3 separate regions of the Homo sapiens genome follow, and all the other regions are linked to region 3. The links are contacts of gene promoters, found by promoter capture Hi-C in human tissues and cell types (Jung and others, 2019). All regions are on one chromosome and are shown on one strand. Each heading gives the region's core, a stretch centred on a gene start or on the middle of the fragment in contact. The rest is flanking DNA. Distances are from core to core; before and after follow the strand shown. Region 1 has its middle 60 kb from the start of NPS. Region 2 has its middle 60 kb from the start of NPS. Region 3 holds the start of NPS (neuropeptide S).

The links. The method cuts DNA at HindIII sites, captures the fragments that hold promoters and counts their contacts. A contact is called where the count stands out against the background at its distance.
Region 1: a fragment that was not itself captured here is called in contact with the fragment with the promoter of NPS in region 3 in 3 of the 25 tissues and cell types used here (aorta, ovary and stomach).
Region 2: a fragment that was not itself captured here is called in contact with the fragment with the promoter of NPS in region 3 in 5 of the 25 tissues and cell types used here (hippocampus, mesenchymal stem cells, mesendoderm cells and 2 more).

The regions. Positions count from the first base shown.
Region 1 is chr10:127,607,142-127,611,336 of GRCh38, forward strand. No RefSeq gene overlaps it. Among named protein-coding and RNA genes, the nearest start is that of NPS, 60 kb to the left of the region's middle. The HindIII fragment of the contact is 6,724 bases long and covers 1-4,195 here.
Region 2 is chr10:127,486,832-127,490,879 of GRCh38, forward strand. No RefSeq gene overlaps it. Among named protein-coding and RNA genes, the nearest start is that of NPS, 60 kb to the right of the region's middle. The HindIII fragment of the contact is 7,769 bases long and covers 1-4,048 here.
Region 3 is chr10:127,546,871-127,550,940 of GRCh38, forward strand. NPS (neuropeptide S) reads left to right here and starts at 2,439. Exons shown (of 3, transcript NM_001030013.2): 1 at 2,439-2,506; 2 at 2,619-2,700. The coding sequence starts at 2,499. The HindIII fragment of the contact is 14,829 bases long and covers 1-4,070 here.

The DNA of each region.
Region 1 (4,195 bases), core at 129-2,628, 59 kb after region 3:
CCTTTTATATCCCTTCAATGGCAGCATCTTTTAAAACTGTTAACAATTAATTAATACAACAATTACAGCCAGGATACTGACATCAACACAGTGATGATTCAAAGGCTCTGTCTCTACTAGGATCTCTCCTGCTGCCTCTCATAGCCACACCCAGCCCCCTCCTGCCCTTGCTTTATCCTTAACCCCTGGCAACCACTAAGCTGTTCTCCATTTCTATCATTGTGTTATTTCAAGAATGTTCTAGAAAGGGATTTATGCAGCATGTAAACTTTTTGGGATGGCTTTTTTTTTTTCACTCAGCCTAATTCTCTGGAGATTAACCCAGGTTGCTGCACAGATAGTTCTTATTTTGCCAAGTAGTAGTCCATGATACAAATGCACTCCAGTGTGTTTAACCATCCACTGTGGAAGGACATCTAAGTTGTTTCCCATTTCGGTTACTGCAAATGGAGCGGCTATGAAACATGCGTGTACAGGTGTTTGTGTGAACATAAATCTTCATCTCTCTGAGATAATTGCCCAGAAGTGCACTGCTGGGTCATGTGGGATTTGCATGTTTATATTTTAAGAAGCCACTGAAGTGTGTTCTAGAGTGCCTGTGCCATTTGGTATTCCTACCAGCAATGTGTGGGCCATCCAGGTTGCCAGCTTTTTCAGCTCCAAGCTTGGGATATATGAGGCAAAAAGAAAACCCCAAGAACCCTCCACTGTGTTGTTGCTTGTGATGCAAGGCAGGTTAGCCCACAAATTGGGGCTTAGCCTGGGAGGGTTCTTGGCTTTGCACAAGAAAGAATTAAAAAGAATTTAAGGGTGAGCTGGTGGTGAGAGAAAGCAAGTTTATTGAAGGGGCAGTGCCTGGCAGAGGTGCTGCTCCTTGCAGAGCAGGGCTAACCCATAGGCATTCTGTACCCAGAGTACCCAGAGTCTATGGGCTGTTGGAAGCCATATTTATATCCATTTTTAATTACATGCTAATTAAGTGGAGGGTTATTTAAATCTTTCTGGATAAGGGAGTTTCTAGAACCATATAAGGTAACTTTCAGGTCATTGCCAAGGTGCATTGCCATGGCATTTGTAAACTGTCATGGTGCTGGTGGGAGTGTCTTTATGTTAACGAGCAGTGAGGGCAGCTAGAGGTGACTTTTGTAGTCATTGGCTGGTTTCTGCCAACTTTCTCCCTGTACCCTGTTTCCACCAGATCCTGCTCCCATTAACTGGGTCACAACCCAGGTCATGGCCAGTGCTTGAAAAACAAGTCCCACTGATCTCCTGCCTCACTTGGTCTCAGGGTTCCCACTGTTCCGCCTTCTTTTCTTCACATTTTAGAGTTTTAAAATTTTTGTTATGTATGTGTAATGTTCTGGGTATTTAGTTGTACATTATGAAAAGAATAGGAGAAAGTATGTCTACTTCATCTTTTCAGAAGCAGAAATACTTCTTTTTAAATGGGACTTTATGGGGTATAATTTACATATAGAAACATGTCTACTTTTTAAGTGTGCACTGGTTACAGTTTTACACATATGCGCCCATTATGCCCTCCACCCAGCTCAATATATCAGACATCTCTGATCCATTCTCTAGAAAATTTCCCTGTGCTCTTTCTTATCAAGTCACCGCCTTCCTCCCCACCTTTCAGGAGACCACAATTCTGGCTTTTCCCACCATAGCTTAGGTTTGCCTGTTTTTGAAATTCATATAAATAGAATCATACAGTAAGCACCATTTTGTGCCTTGCTTCTTTTTGGCAACATATTTTTGAGATTCACCCATGTTATTCCATGTATTAAAAGATCATTACTTTTTACTGCTGAGTAGCACTTCATTATGTAAATATACCACAATTAATTTGTCCTCTTCAAGATATGAATCTTAAAGGGGAATTTTATGCCAGTAAGCTGAGGAGTTGGAGCTGAAATTTGGATTGGTAAGGCCAATGACACATGGGTCATAAAGGTAAAGGTTGGAAATAAAAATCATGGCTGTTTTTAATACTTTGAGACAGGTTAATATGAAATGTACAGTCTACCTTCTTCAAACAGTCATTTTACGAAAATCTGATTAGGCTCTCATCTCCTATGGCTATCTGTACCTTTTGAAATTGGGATTAGTTGCTAGCTATGGGCCTCTGTGAAATCTGCTGAACTCATGCTGTCAGAATTCATTATATGATCACCACCATTTTAGCAGTAATATGCCTGATATCAAGTGATAAAGAGAATGTGATGCCATTATCGATGAGAAAAGACTATTCACATTTTGCTTTATAAAATTTAAAAAGCCACTTCATATTGCTTTGCTTTTAAAATGAAACAATGTAAAATAATGAAACATTAACTCAATTATAGATTTGTATTTTGTTTGCAGAGATTTTAATCTGTAATGCTCAATAACAGATATCTCTGCTGAAGATGGGGAAGGGATGATATGCAATGGTCTCAGCCTGCGGAAATATACCCTTATGAGCCACAAAAGCAGTGATTGGCTCAGAAAATTATTCACAGTGTGCTTATTACATGCATGTTACTGGACAATCAGCACATACAAAGAGGGTTACAGCAGAGATCCTGCCCAAAAAGAACTTGCAAACTAGTTGACAGAAAAGACTAATACAAGGAAAATGAAATAATACAAGATTTCTTAATAACCACTCTCTATGTGAATAAAGCTACCTGCAAGTTTGTAACTTCCTCACAGAAGATCTTGCCCAGAAACCTAAAGTTGTGATGCAGGGGAGATATTCCTTTCATTTTGAAGTAAGTAAGACTCAAAAGGAACAAGTGGCTTGCCCAAGTCACGTCAGGTGAGTGTGTGGAAGAGCCAGGAGCCTGGATATGCACCCCCACTCCTCTTCCCATGACAGTCTTGCCTTCATGCTGAATCCCACTTATGGAAGGAAGGATAACCTCTGTCCTGGCTTCCTCAGCACTGGCTCCGAATGGAGACACCGGTAGAGGATGTGCAGGTCTGTGCTGAAGCAGCTGAGTCCTCAAGGGTTGGTTAGATTTGGTAAAGTAGATTCAAATGGTACCCCCAGAAGACGGAATAGCATGAGCTAAACTTTTGGAGCCAATGAGTACAAGGTTGAGGGGAGAGTCATGTTTGGATTTCCTAACCCGCAGGGCCAGGATGGAAAAGAGGAGAGGATACTCCCATAGAAGAGGGCTGAAATTAGAATTGGAAAATGACCAAGCTGAGATGGCAATGTCTGGGACCAGAGTAGGAGCAGAGGAAACAATAAGCCAAGGGAAGGGTCTGATTGTATGTGCATGCGTGGCTTTTTCTTGCACTCCTTTCTGCTTTTGTTTAGTTAGTTTTCAATGTTTTGATTGGAAGCTATATGTGATGTGAGGTGATGGGTAAAAGGAACAGAGGTGCAGAGGCCTTCCAGGAAAGGTTATATGTTTATCTGGCTAGGAGCTGGGCTGTGTCTGCTGTCACTGGAATGTGTCAGGAGCTACTCTCTTTGGGTGTCCCAGCTCCTGGCTCCCCGTCGTCTTTGGGACTTGCTAGAGATTTCTTCTTAAAGCAGGTTGAGAGGTGCCATTCTTTCCGCTGCATTCCTGTTATGACACAGGAGTCTGCTGGGGAGATGGTCAGGTATGGGGAAGGGAAGCATTCTCTGGTCCTCTGATTTGGTCTCCTTCCTCTAGTGGGTCTGTATCCCTGGGCTGAGACCTTCACACAGCTTCTCATTTTGTTTTGTTTTGTTTTGTTTTTTTCCCCCTTAGGCAGGAAGGGTAGAGGGGGCTGGAGTTGGGCATTTCTCTTGCCCAGGCAGGTTACACTGTGGCAAAATCCGAAGTGGTTAGTAAAATAGTTTTGCTTGGGGGCAGTCTTTTGCTACTGAGAACAGAACACTCTGGGCATATTTCCAAATGGTTAGTTCCCTCTTACCTCTGCCAGAAGTGTGATTTTTCTCTGATCTACACTATAAGAATCTAGTAGAGCTCCTGGGAGTAAAACTCATGCAAGTGTGGGGTTCCCCCTACAACTGGGTCTCCCTGGAGTTTCTGAGCTTGTCCAGCAATTCCTCAGTTACAATTTAGGTTTTCTTACTCCAGGGTGGGTTCCCATGGTGGCTTCTGCTCCCGTAAGCTGTGATTCTCTGTATCCACTCATCTGTCCCTCCAATTTAGGGGACAGCAGTTTGCCCTGGGAATCAGTTCTCTGATGGATTTAACAAGAATTTGTT
Region 2 (4,048 bases), core at 1,068-3,567, 60 kb before region 3:
GTGATCTTTAGCAGGAATCAAAGCAGTGGTAGCCAACTACACTCCTGGTCATTTTGTGTACTCACAATTTTTTTTAAAGCACCAGCCGTACACGGTGATTCATGCCTGTAATCCCAGCACTTTGGGAGGCCAAAGCGGGCAGATCACTTGAGGCCAGGAGATCGAGACCAGGCTGGCCAACATAGTGAAACCCCATCTCTACTAAAAATGCAAAAAATTAGCTATGCATGGTGGCACACACCTGTAGTCCCAGCTACTCAGGAGGCTGAAGCCTGAGAATTACTTGAACCCAGGAGGCAGAGGATGCAGCGAGCCAAGATCGTGCCACTGCACTTTAGCCTGGGTGACAGAGTGAGAATCTATCTCAAAAGAAAAAAAAAAGCACCAGTTTCACTTAAGAATGTTTTTGATGAAGCAGCATAAACTATTAATTTTATTAAACCTTGCCCCTTGTGTACACGTCCTTTATATTCTCCGTGTTAAAATGCGAAGTGTGCATACCCGGTGTGCACGTTATCTCAAGGAAAGGCACCTGTGCGATTGTTTCTGTTCTGAGCTGAATGAACTGCGTCTTCCTTGGACCGTCATTTTCGCTTCAAAGAAAGACTGACAGACATACCATGGCTATTCAGACTTGGGTATTTGCTAGACATTTTCTTTAAAATGAACAAAGCAAGCCTGTCACTTCAAGGAAAGCAACTGACATTATTTTTTGCCCGTGATAAAATTCAAGCTTTCAAGTGAAAATTGGAATTTTGGAACATTCCTTCAGCCACCATGAGCTTAACAGTCTCCCTTGACTTAAATACTTCACTGATGACACAGGTGGTGATTTTAACAAAGATGATTTTTTAATCCTGTACAATGAAATGTGTCAACATTTGGAAGATCTGCATAACAGTGACCTGCCATTTTCCAAAGACCAATGCCTGCTGTTATGTGGAGAAATGATCCTTTCAAAGCACAAGATGGACCAAGAGTTTAATGTAGCAGAGCAAAAAATATTCCCTGGTGGGGTTTCTGATTCTACATTGCAATATACTTTAAGAACCTATAACTTGCTGAGTTTTTATGTAGTCTGTAAGAGGAATATCCACAATGATTGGAAAAGGCTATTAAAATACTTTTCCAACAGCATATCTGAATGAGGCCTGAATTTCTTATTATACTTCAACCAAAACCACAGATCACAACAGGTTAATTCTGAAGATTCAGCCATCTTCTACTAAGCCAGACATTAAAGAGATATGTGGCAACGCCACTCTTTGCATTATATTTTGTTTGTTTTGGGAAAAATAGCTATTTTTTAAAATAAAATAGCGTATGTTAATACATCATGGCTTTATTAGTATTATTTTAAACTCTATCAAGAATTTAGAAGCATTTTTAGTTTTATTTTCTAATACGATAACATTAATAGATATAACCCACATTAACAAAAGTTATTTGGGGGTCTTCAAACATTTTTGAGAGGGTAAAGTGCTTCTGAGATCCAAAGGTTTAAGAATTACTGGCCCAGTTAATCCTTGTCCTAATCCCGCTCTCACCTAGGGAGGAGAAGACAGTAGGCTGATAGGACAGTGACTGCATCGCACCTGCCACTAAGCCTGGGGATCAGCGTGCATTGCACTAAACACAGAAGCACAGGATGCCCCCACTGCTTCCTACCCAGTGTGGATGGGGCACGAGCGCCTGGTGCTGGCTGCCTGCCTGTCCTCTTGCCTCTCTTCCTGGCAGCTTCGACATCACATGGGTCCGGCATCCTTGTCGTTCCCGTTCTTGGATCTCCGAGGTCCCAGGAGTCCCAGTAGTTTTTTCACTTCTCACTTCATACCCTAGACTACTGTTTTTCATGAAGTCCCATTGTTTTCCAAATATGTTGCAGTTTTTCCAAGTTTGTTGTTTGCTTTTAAACTTTTTTGCTGGTGTCTTTTGACATACAAATCATGTCGATGTTTTATATAATGTAAATTTTTTTTTTTTTTGGAGATGGAGTCTCACTTTGTCACCCAGGCTGGAGTGCAGTGGTGCAATATTAGCTCACTGATGCAACCTCTGTCTCCTGGGTTCAAGTGATTGTCCTGCCTCAGCCTCCCACCAACATACCCAGTTATTTTGTATAGTAATCATTTAATTTATAGCTTTTGCTTTGCTCTTTCATGTTGACTAAATTATTTTTTTACCATAAGGTTATAAAAATATTCTTCTAAATTTTCTTTGGAATTTTAATGTCTTCTTTTTTTTAGATTTATCCCTTTAACACAATTGGAATTTTAAAAAGTTATTTTTTGAAGTTAATCGGCATACGATAAAATGAATGCACCCATACTAAGTGTAGATTTGATGTATTTTATATTTCCACTTAATATATTAAAATCTATATACCATGCATGTACACACTGTCAAATGTAAACATCACTGTATACCACTATTTAGACATTCAACTATTGAAGCATAATTGAGTTGCTTCTGTTTTGGATTAGAAATAATGTTTTGTTATATTGTTAATAAAGCTGATAGGAACATTTATATACAAGTCTTTTTGTGAACACAGTTTTAAAGATTATATATTCAGGCCGGGCGCGGTGGCTCCGCCTGTAATCCCAGCACTTTGGGAGGCCAAGGCGGGCAGATCACGAGGTCAGGAGATCGAGACCATCCCGGCTAAAACGGTGAAACCCCGTCTCTACTAAAAATACAAAAAAAAAAAATTAGCCGGGCGTAGTGGCGGGCGCCTGTAGTCCCAGCTACTCGGGAGGCTGAGGCAGGAGAATGGCGTGAACCCGGGAGGCGGAGCTTGCAGTGAGCCGAGATCCCGCCACTGCACTCCAGCCTGGGCGACAGAGCGAGACTCCGTCTCACAAAAAAAAAAAAAAAAAAAAAAAAGATTATATATTCAAATTGGTTGTTACTGATATAAAGGAAAGTTGCTTTGAAAATGATTTTAACGTTATATGCAGGAATTTTAAGAAATGCTCTTGTTAAGGAGTTTTAATCATGTTTCTTAGAAATGCTCTTAGATTTTTCTGGGTAGACATTGAGGTAATCCTCTAATGATGATCATCTTGTCTTTTCCTTTGCAATAAACATTTTGCTTCGTGTTTTTGCCTTATTATATTAGTTACAGCCTTCAGAGCAAAGTTGAAGAATAGCAATTATTCTTGTTCCCAACTGTATGAGTCATCTATTGTTGTGTGATGTTATGGTTGAATTGTGTCTCTTAAAATTCATATGTTGACATCCCAACCCCAACAACTCAGAATGTGATCTAATTTGGAAATAAGGTCTTCAAAAAGATAAGCAAATTAAGATGAGGTCATTAAGGTAGGCTGTAATCCAATATGACTAGTAGCTCTGAAAAGGAGACATAGACACACACGCAGGGAGAACGCCATGTGAGCCTGAAGACGGCCACCCACGAGCTGGGGAGGGAGCCCTAGAAGGATCTCTTCTAGCCCTCAGGAGAAACCAGTCCTGCCAACACCTTGATCTCAGACTCTGGCATCCAGAACTGTGGCTCCCCATAATGCCTGTTGTTTAAGCCACCAGTTTCTGGTACTTTAATACTGCAGCCCTAGCAGACTAGTACATTTAACAAATCACCCTAAAACATAGTGGCATAGAACAGTCTAATGATCTGTTATTAAGTCTGATGCTTGTGGGATGTTTCTAATAGATACTCTTAATTTTAGAAAATTTAATTCTACTCTTGGAATACTTAGAATTCGTATCAGAAGTGGATTGTGACCATACTAAATGTTTTTTTGGCACCCATATAGATGACCATATGGTTTTCTCATTTAACCTCTTAACATAATGAATTGCAGCGATGGCTTCCCTGATGTTCTGATTCTGCCCGTAGTACAGTTTATCTTCTCTCCCCTTAGGTGAGTTCATTGAGGGTGTAGCCGTCCCTGTATCCTCCGTGCCTGGTGCGGGGGCTGGCACACAGCAGACTCACAGTTAATGCCTGCTGAAATGCATTATATCAATTATCATTTAAATTCAAGGCCATCTTCTTCAACTTAAATCAGATGGACCACTGGAG
Region 3 (4,070 bases), core at 1,189-3,688:
GCCCATGGCAGGATTTTGTGTGTTATTGGGAATTGTCAACTGTGGACTTCTGTGTACTGCAGTTGGCTGAGATATTTTTACTAGAAATCTTAACGTCTGTATCTGTAGATTTTTCCTCTTGGGCCTCTCATAGGAGGATCTTCCATTGACTTGTCTTGAAGTTTAAGACCTGTCTGGCAGTGTGCTGAGAGTTGTGTCAAGGAAGAGATCCATGAGTCTTGGCATTGAGTGTAATCCTTATTCAATCTTTGTTTTTAGAAAGATACTCTTTCATTTCACTATACCTGATTCCTTCTCTTTACCTTCTCCTTAGAATAAACCTTTCTGACTAGATGCAGTGGCTCACACCTGTAACCCCAACTCTTCGGTAGGCCAACGCAGGAGGATCGTCGCTTGAGTCCAGGAGTTTGAGTTCGAGACCAGCCTGGACAACACAGTGAGACTCTGTCTCTACAAAAAAATTAAAAAATTAGCTGAGTATGATGGCGCATGGTCCTAGCTACTTGGAGGCTGAGGCGGGAAAATCACTTGAACCTAGGAGGTTAAGGCTGCAGTGGGCCATCATCATGCCACTGCACTTCAGCCTGGGCAACAGAGGGAGATCCTGTCTCAAAAATAAAAAATAAAAATAATAAACCTGTCATCTCCTGCCAATTCTAGAGAGTAGACAGTGTCTGGCAATGGGAAGTTGGGAGAGGATGTGCTATTGATTGAGTTGATTCTTAAACAAATTTCCACTTAACCCTCCATTTTGGTACCATCTTCACTACATGCAAAAATAACTTGAGTCTTTTGGGGGTATTTCAGTAAGCACCTTTCTCAGATCCACTTGATCAATTGTTTATCACTTAATAAAATCCTTCTGCATTCTTTTTGGGTTCCTGCGTGTGTGTGTGTGTGTGTGTGTGTGTGTGTTTTAGCTAAAACAACCAAAAGTAAATATGTGTGTTCAGTCCCTTTGTGCTCTTAGGCCCTTTGTCTCCTAATATCCACACTATGTCCCATAAGAACACTGATCAAAGTAGTTTGGATCACTTCCTCAGCCCCTCAACTTGGCTCTAATCTTGTGAGCTTGGTTCTCTTGAGAGTCCAGGTCATCTGCTTTTCCTTGTGATGGCAAACTGTGACTGTATGATTGACAGCTACATAAAAATCATGCAAATGGCAGTTCCCCAAAGAAAGAAATGCAGTGCCAACAAATTGGCAGCAACTGTCCCAGACACAGGGCAGCTTTGTCCTCCAAAAGGTGCTGATCTCGAGGAGGCACGGATTATCCTTGGTTGCTTTGTATTCAAAAACTGTTGGCATCATCTCAGAAACACTAGTTATCCAAGCAGAAAGCACCTCCCTTGGTGTTTTTCTCCATTGTAAGCCTCAGCAACATCTGTTCATACTTAGAGCTCCTGAATCCATTTATTAATGCAGATGCCCATTGAAGTGCAAGGACAGCAAAGGCTGCCTGAAGAAATTCCATACCCTGGGGAGAAAAAGGAAGCCATGAAAAGCAGGCTCTCCCAGAACTGTGGGCCTGGGACTTTGGGAGCCCGTGGGACTTTTGGGAGTACATGGCATGGACAGGGGATACACAGTGTCCTTCCTTTATTTCGATGACTAGCGGAAAAGGTGTGACATTTATTTTCCTGCTTTAACTGCTGAAGTCCTAAAGGAAAGAAATCTAAGGTAGAAAATGTAAATAATCTGCATGAGTTGTTTGGGTAAATGTGTTTTTTTGTTTGTTTTTGTTTTGTTTTGTTTTGTTTTGAGTCAGAGTCTGGCTCTGTCACCCAGGCTGGAGTGCAGTGGGGCAATCTCGGCTCACTGCCACCTCTGCCTCCCGGGTTCCAGCGATTCTCCTGCCTCCTGCCTCAGCCTCCCAAGTAGCTGGATTACAGGTGTGCACTACCACGCCTGGCTAATTTTTGTATGTTTAGTGGAGATAGGGTTTCACCATGTTGGCCAGGCTGGTCTCAAACTCCTGACCTCAGGTGATCCACCTGCCTCGGCCTCCCAAAGTGCTAGGATTACAGGTGTGAGCCACCGTGCCCAGCTGGGTAGATGTTCTTTATTCCTGTAAGTATTTCTTTTGTGTTAGTTTCTGAAACATAATGTCTGGGACATTCAAGGAAAGAATGTCATCCTTCTTAAAGGTTTAAATTCTAAGCTAAAAAAACCTTTTGTTTCCTTTTGAGACCTCTGGCCACCCATGCCACAATGATTCAGTCTCGAAGACAATGGTTTTGAAGGACATTCTTAATGGCAAACTTTAAATGAAGTCGATCATTGGCAGCTCAATGACAATGCCCATATGTTATGTCCTTTTCTTCTTAACAAGAACAAAAGGCCACAGACAGAACAATTAGTCATATAGGAGGGATGAGATGACATTTTTACTCCCGAACTTTTCTGGTATAAAAGGGCCACCCAATGAGGGTCTGAGAGTAAGTGTGAGAAATTTGGCAATAAAACCACCTATCTTTACAGATTTTGGGAAGTCCAAAATGATTAGGTAAAAGGCTACGTTTTTCTGCAAAGAAAAATGTTGCATTTTCATATGCTGTTTTACTTATTCTTGCCTACTTGAGACTAAATCTTGATTGTACTTTTTTTCTACTTTGCAGCTCAGTAAAACTCAATCTCATCCTAGTTCTGTCGCTGTCCACAATGCATGTGTTTTGGTGTTATCCAGTTCCATCTTCTAAGGTAAGGATTTGCCTCCGTTGTGGATATTTAAATAGATGACTAGAATGGTAAATTATGTAAATTCCAAATACTTTCAAGGAATATGTGACAGAAAAGTAATTTCCTTTATTATTAGAGTTCTCAATGGGAAAAAGTCAGCAGATTGATGACATTAGTAAAAGAAAATATTAGTGTGACAAGTAACACTGGACTATATTCAAATTTGTTTTGAATTATTTAGGGTTGGCTCCTGCAAAGGGAAATATTCATCTCAATCTAAAGTAATTTTTTTGCCAATGGCAATTTATTTATTCCACATGCATTCATTCATAATCAAAGTGAACACTTAACCATGGAAACTATATTAAAAATAAAGTGGTCATTTTTCAAAAACAGTTTAATTTTTTCAGATGCAGAATATAGATAAAACGTTAGCTCTAAATAAAATATCACATAAAATATTAATTCATATATTTATTAGAGAATATTGATTGAACTCCTACGTTCATTGAACTGTTCAAGACATTCAGAAAATAAATATCTTTCTTTGGAATATTTAATATTATTTCTACATAATATTTCAGTTGCCTTTATGTCAATATTTTGTTTATAATTTTAAAATATCTTTTGTCATTGACGGCATTTTGAACTTGAACTTTTTTTCACTAAAACGTAACCTGTCACATTATAATGACTGAAATCAATGTGATTTATGAAACTACTTTTAGGATAAAGGGATGTCGCATAAATCCTAAGTGATAAATATATGTCTGAACATAATGATCTAGTTATTTATATTATTGGCCTTTTCACTAATCTTTGCATCTGTCATTTTTCTATTTCTTGTTTATTTAATATAGCTTCTTTTTTTTGGTTTCCTCCTATGAGCATTCAACACTAATTTAGTCATCAATTCTATAAGACACCACATTGATCAAGCTGATGAGTCACAATCCATATACTGGTATATTTTCTCAAGTGTCTTCCTAATTACTTTCTGTTCTTTCCCCAAAGGTTTACTCATGACATTTCTGTTGAATAACAGGCTCTTCTCTGTAGCTTTTTTAAAAGAAATTAAGAATGTACTTTGTTCTAAAATACTTATGAGACTTCCTTGTCCATAAATGAAATGTTTCTCCTTTCACTGCATTTTCCTTATTTCTATTTTTGCACGTGACAGTTTTGTTCTTGTTATTACCTAGTTCCGTAGTAAGAGTGTGGATGCTATTCATGCCAATTTGATTGCTTAGGGTGAATGATTATGCAGGCAGACGACACATAGGCTTTTATAATATTTGTTGCGAACTTCACTGAGTCCATTAACCAGGCAAATATACAATCTTATTATGTTAATGAGTCTGCCCTGGCAAGGGCTGCCTTCGACGATCAGC